2 separate regions of the Homo sapiens genome follow, and region 2 is linked to region 1. The links are contacts of gene promoters, found by promoter capture Hi-C in human tissues and cell types (Jung and others, 2019). All regions are on one chromosome and are shown on one strand. Each heading gives the region's core, a stretch centred on a gene start or on the middle of the fragment in contact. The rest is flanking DNA. Distances are from core to core; before and after follow the strand shown. Region 1 holds the start of CEBPG (CCAAT enhancer binding protein gamma). Region 2 overlaps ZNF507 (zinc finger protein 507).

Region 1 (3,206 bases), core at 109-2,608:
ATTATTTAGCCTTGTTTACAGCAACTTTTTCCAGAAGCAGAATCGACCTTATGAACAGCTTATCCCAAATACTACTCAAGGGCTAACAGATGACCACATCTTAAATATCAAGAGCTTCTAGGTGTAGAATGTCTTCGTAAAGCAAGCCCTTATAGGATTTTCTTTTAAAATTTTCTCTGGGAGTCACATTTCTTTGGGAGAAGTCTGCCTTAAGTGACAACCTATTCATATAAGCAGTCAATTCTGACACAACTACCAATTTTGGTGTCACCCATCAACATTGAGACCTTTCTAAATCTTATACATTTCAGGATGCCAGATTACAGTATAAACTTCAAACAAGAGGAAAACCCAACACGTAAACCTGCGGAAGAGAAGCAACACACCAGCTGCCCTGGAAAACACTCTCCTCCCCCCGCGACACATGCATTTCCATCCTTCGCATCTGGTCACCTCCGCTGGCTGTCGGCCCTGCTCCGCTCCCTCCAACTATGCCTGCGAAGTGCTTCATTTCTTCTCTATTCGACCCGTAGGTGTTGCGTGTTCTTCTAAACTACGTTCAACAGTAAAGTGCAGGACATTCCAACAGCTCCACAAAGAAGCAAAATATTATCTCTGCAAAGTCATGCATTTAAAAACCAGTTGCTTTCCCTATTTTATTGATCAGTCTTTGAACTTCTGAACAGATTTTCGATCACCGCAAGCTGAGCCCTTCTAGAAGATCAGGATTCTAAAGCTCGACTCGGTCCACCTTCTGCTATTCTGGGAACACCCTTCATCCCCAGGGGCCAATGCGAGCCTGGCGGGTCACAGCGCCCGTTTCACCGAGAGGGGGCCGGGCTCCGCAGGGGGCATTCCCCGGCCGTTCGCGCGCTCCCGGCCCGCCGCGAGGGGCGCCCCGGGCAGCGCGGGGGTCGACGGGCGGCGCCGCAGCGCTGGGCCGCGGCCAGGAATGAGCTCAGCGTCCCCGCCGGGTGTTGCCGGCAGGTTGCATCAGACGCCGCGCGGCGCCGCCGCCCGCGCCTCCAGCCTCGCGTGGCCTTCCCGGGCCAGCGGGCCGTCTGGGGCCGGGGCTGGGTTTCCCCGAGCCGGGCCCGCACCCAGTCGAGCGGCCGGCGTCGCCGCGGCCTCCTCCTCCCCGTTCTCAGGGCGCCCGCCGCAGCCTCCTTACCTGCTCCTCTAGCCCGCCTGCCCCCAGGCGGCCTCCACTCCGAGCGGCCCCGCGCGGTGCGGCCCGAGCCGACCCAGGCCTCACAGCCCGCGAGTCAGCGAGGAGGAGCGACGGTTACGAAACCGGCAGCCTCCGCCCGTTCCGCAGCCGCGGCCACCGGCTTCCCCTGCTCGCCGGGGCCGCGCGCGCCGCCGCCGCCATCCCGGCCAATGGGAGCGCCGGCCTGCCGGAGGCACCGCCTTCTCTCGCGACGGGCAGCCCAGTCGACCAATCGTGGGCAGGCTGGCGGCGGGAGGCGGGCCCACGGTGGGGGAGTGGGTTCCGCGCGGCTGGCTCGGCGGGTGTGGCGGGAGCAGGGAGCTGCTTGCTGCGGCGTCCGCGGTCCCTAGGCAGCTCGCCCGGGCTGGCGGCGGCCTAGTGCTGTGGACGACTCAAGTTCGAGTCGGAGGCTGAAAAGCCGTCACCTTGTGGAGGCCAGACGTGCCTTTGGAAGCATTTTCTGAGGTGGTTTTGTGAACCACCGGCGACTGTTTTGGTTTCGCCGCGTCCCTTGGAAGCCCCCGCGGCGTCCCTCACAGAGTTTCTGCGAACGGAACGCCCCGCAGGCGGGCGGGCTTTGTCGCCGCAAAAAGAGTGGAGGCTGACGCGGTGGCTCCCGCCTATAATCTCAGCGCCGAGGGAGGCCGAGGCGGGAGAATGGCTTGAGCCCAGGCGTTGGAGAACCAGCCTGGACAACATAGCGAGACCCCATCTCAGTTACTAATTTTTAAAAAATCGAATGAACCCAGATGTTTCACACATAGGATTAGCATTGATGTCACATGGGTGAAATCCATGTGCTGCAGGCTGTGCTTTGTTGTTAGGGTGAGATGAAGTGAATTTCTTAAAATGATTCTCTTTGGGTGCCTTCCAGGTGCATGGGTGCGAGGTGATCTCTGAAAATAAGCAGCGATCCAGTGTGACTTAAAACTCGCCAGGAGAACCCGAAAGCGTTTTTTTTTTTTTTTTTTTTGAGACGGAGTCTCGCTCTGTCGCCCAGGCTGGAGTGCAGTGGCGCAATCTCGGCTCACTGCAAGCTCCGCCTCCCGGGTTCACGCCATTCTCCTGCCTCAGCCTCCCAAGTAGCTGGGACTACAGGCGCCCGCCACTACGCCCGGCTAATTTTTTGTATTTTTTTAGTAGAGACGGGGTTTCACCGTTTTAGCCGGGATGGTCTCGATCTTCTGACCTCGTGATCCGCCCGCCTCGGCCTCCCAAAGTGCTGGGATTACAGGCGTGAGCCACCGCGCCTGGCCCCGAAAGCGTTTTAACACCAGGAAGCAGCAGCTCGCTGGGCGGAGGGCAGAACTCGCCTGATAGGTTTAATTGCTTCCTCTTTAGCAACGCGTATCGTTCAAACAATTGAGGCTTTGAAAGAGGAAATGTTTCTTCAGCGCCCATGGAACCGGCTCGCCCCGTAAGATTGTTTCGAGGAATCAGTAAGATGATAAAGCAATAAATAAAAATTAAAAGGGGTCACAACGGTGAACAATGGGCTGGGCGCGGTGGCTCAGGTCTGTAATCCCAGCACTCTGCGAGGCCGAGGCAGGCTGATCACTTCAGGTCGGGAATTAGAGACCAGCCTGGGCAACATGGAAAAACCCCATCTCTACCAAAAATACAGAAGATTAGCCGGGTGTGGTGGCGCTGTGCCTGTGGTCCCAGCTACTCTGGAGTCTGAGATGGGAGGATGGCTTGAGCCTGAGAGGCGGAGGTTGCAGTGAGCTGAGATTGAGCCACTGCACTCCAGCCTGAGCCACAGAATGAGATCCCTGTCTCCAAAAAAAAAAAAACAGGTAATAATGCTCACAGATGCACACTTAGGAGAATAAGTGTCATTGAAACAAGTGTGTTTCTTCACGTTGGCTCTCAGTATTCTCAGCTTAAATTTCTTTTCTTCTTTTTTTTTGAGACGATCTTGCTGTGTTGCCCCAGCTGGAGTGCAATGGCACTGCCACAGCTTGATCACAGCTCACTGCAGCCTCGACTTCCTGGG
Region 2 (2,923 bases), core at 242-2,741, 1.0 Mb after region 1:
GCAACAAGGCCTTGTAGCTCTTTAAGAACTCATTACTGCTGCCTGTGAGCATGTTTCTTAACAAAATGTAGGGAATCAGAAATGCATAGGATATGGCATGAACTCTGAGAAACCAAGCCCAAACTCTGACCATAAGTGCACCAGGCAACGAAACTGAATGAAGCAGACATGAAATGAGCCAGAGAAACTCCTGTGATCCTTGAATTAAGTCAGACATTATAAAGGCTACGCTACCAGCTCCGCTTAAAGCACACAGTATAGGACAACGAGGAGAAAGTCCTAGAAACATCCTGGAATAGAACATGTTAATCCGTAATGCTCTGCGACCAGAAATCCCATGAAGGCAAAGGATGGTGAGTATTTAAAGAAAGTTAAAAGGAGAGCCATGACATTAGAAAATAAGACTTATGAGGAAAAACTGATAATAAGTACAAAGAGGGAGATATGACAAAACTGTATCTAAGGCATAACCACACCAAACCCAGTGACAAAGTGGAGTGTGAATAAATTTGGAAAATAACAGACTGAGAGTTCTCTGATGTTACACAAAGAGGATGCTCACGGGATGTTGCCCGTTGGTAGGAAGACCCTAGGACAACTGCAATGAATCCTATGAATCTGTGAATATTTTAAGAACACAAGAAAACATCCCTGAGACACTGACAGCTATCAAAATGAATCTTTAAGCTGCAAGACTGATCTAATAAAGCAGATGTAAAACCTTCAACAGAACTAGAATCGCTAACCTTTTTCCTAAGTATTTGAGGGTTTACTTGCTTATTGTTTGTCTACAAGTTCCATGACAGCAAAGATGACGTCTGTTTTGTTATGACTGTAGTCCAAGAATCTAGCACGGCCCCTGAAGCATAATATTTGCTCAATAAATATTTCTCCATGAATGAAAGAACAATCTAATTCTGGACCCGGAGAAATGTTATTTTCTTCTTACTTAAATCACATGAATCTGGCACGGTATGTCTAAATTCAAGGATACCAAAAATATAAAGGCAAAGCTTTCTCCTCCTATCAGGTAAACTAGTGTTCCCTGTTTCCATCACATTCTCCTAAACATTTCCCAGTATAAATCACGAATGTAAATATACTCAGTCCCACCTATTAAATAGACTGATTGGACATGGTGTAACCATGTAATCCCAGCACTTTGGGAGGCCAAGGTGGGCGGACACTTGAGGCCAGGAGTTCAAGACCTGGCGAAACCCCGTCTCTAATTAGCTAATCATGGCACATGCCTGTGGTCCCAGCTACTTGGGAGGCTGAGGCATGAGAATCACTTGAACCCGGGAGGCGGAGGTTGCCGTGAGGTGAGATCACTCCACTGCACTCCAGCCTGGGTGATGACAGAGCGAGACTCTGTCAAAGAAAAAAAGGAAGGAAGGAAGGAAGGAAGGAGGGAGGGAGGGAGGGAGGGGAGGGAAAGGAAAGGAAGGAAAGGAAGGAAGGAAAGGAAGAAAGGAAAGGAAGAAAGGAAAGGAAGGAAGGAAACGAAGGAAGGAAAGGAAGGAAGGAGGGAGGGAGAGAGGGAGGGAGGGAAGAAAAGGAAAGGAAGGAAAGGAAAGGAAGGAAAGGAAGAAAGGAAAGGAAGGAAGGAAAGGAAGGAAAGGAAGGAAGGAAAGGAAGGAAGGAAGAAAAGAAGGAAGGAAGGAAAGAAGGAAGGAAGGAAGACACTGAGGAGGACTGAGGCAAGGTCAAACACCTTCCACAGAGTTTTAAGACTCTGCAAACAGATGTACTTTCTGAAGAGTGATTATAAGTAAGTCTGCTGGTTTGCAAATTAAGCACATATTAAATATTCGAAACCATACACAGATCACCACACTTTGGGATTAAACAATGACCTTTTATGGCACAATCTGTCAGGTTTTCATTGAGATTAATACAATAACTTTCCCACACTCACTTGTATCATATCTACAGAATCTGGGGAGAGAGTTAAACCTGCTAAGTTTTGACAAGGGGGTGAAAGTTCATGCGCATTGCCTAGCACTATCACTGAGAATGCCTATATTTTCTGAAATATATATCTGAATTTGCTTTTGGGAAAAATCAAGTAATGAAATTAAATGACTTATTCTACACATACTAGCTTAATTTTGAAAAATGGACTCTTTCATAGAAAATTTTATTGCCTTTAAGTTTTAAGGATCTTTTGCTGAATACTGAGTACCTTACTGCCAAATTACTGAAATGAACTCTAAGGCATTGAAAATTGCTATGAAATTTATACCCATATGAAATGAAAACATAAAATTGACAGATAAAGACAATTTCCTATGTATCAACTAGACAAAATGCCTACTGTCCTAAGATTCAAGCTTAAAGTTCACATCTTAACAAATCAAACAAGACATAATACCAGCCAGGTGCAGTGGCTCACGCCTGCAATCCCAGCACTTTGGGAGGCTGATGTGGGAGGATCCCTTGAGGCCAGGAGTTCGAGGCTGCAGTGAGCTGTGATCATACCACTGCACTCCAGCCTGGGCAATACAGCAAGACACTGACTCAAAAAATAAATAAGTAAATATATAAAACAACAAAATATAAAACCAATTAGTGAAAATTTCTTACTTCTTAACCTGTGTTTCAGTAAGTGCTATACATTTTTATTTCATTTTATTTCTTTAATATAAAATATTTTAATACAAACATTAAAATTCTAGAATCATAACACTTACCTGTACGGCTTATCAGAGTTATGGATTCGCCTGTGGTTTCTGACACCAACATATGTTGTACTTGTATAATCACACACATCACATCTATATTGTTTCTGGACTGAAGACTTATTCCCTAGACAAGGTATTTCAGAGTTTTAGTAGCAGGCTTTGACAAGATTCAAATGACAGCATTTACATTCCATTGTAAATGAAAATTTATACCACACAGTTGTATTAATATTTCAATC

What was found. The method cuts DNA at HindIII sites, captures the fragments that hold promoters and counts their contacts. A contact is called where the count stands out against the background at its distance.
Region 2: a fragment that was not itself captured here is called in contact with the fragment with the promoter of CEBPG in region 1 in 1 of the 25 tissues and cell types used here (aorta).

Annotation. Positions count from the first base shown.
Region 1 is chr19:33,371,861-33,375,066 of GRCh38, reverse strand. It overlaps CEBPG (CCAAT enhancer binding protein gamma), which reads right to left and starts at 1,358. Exons shown (of 2, transcript NM_001806.4): 1 at 1,172-1,358. RefSeq lists a silencer at 762-1,571. The HindIII fragment of the contact is 10,998 bases long and covers 1-3,206 here.
Region 2 is chr19:32,360,389-32,363,311 of GRCh38, reverse strand. It overlaps ZNF507 (zinc finger protein 507), which reads right to left. Exons shown (of 7, transcript NM_001136156.2): 5 at 2,694-2,808. Among named protein-coding and RNA genes, the nearest start is that of ZNF507, 16 kb to the right of the region's middle. The HindIII fragment of the contact is 4,607 bases long and covers 1-2,923 here.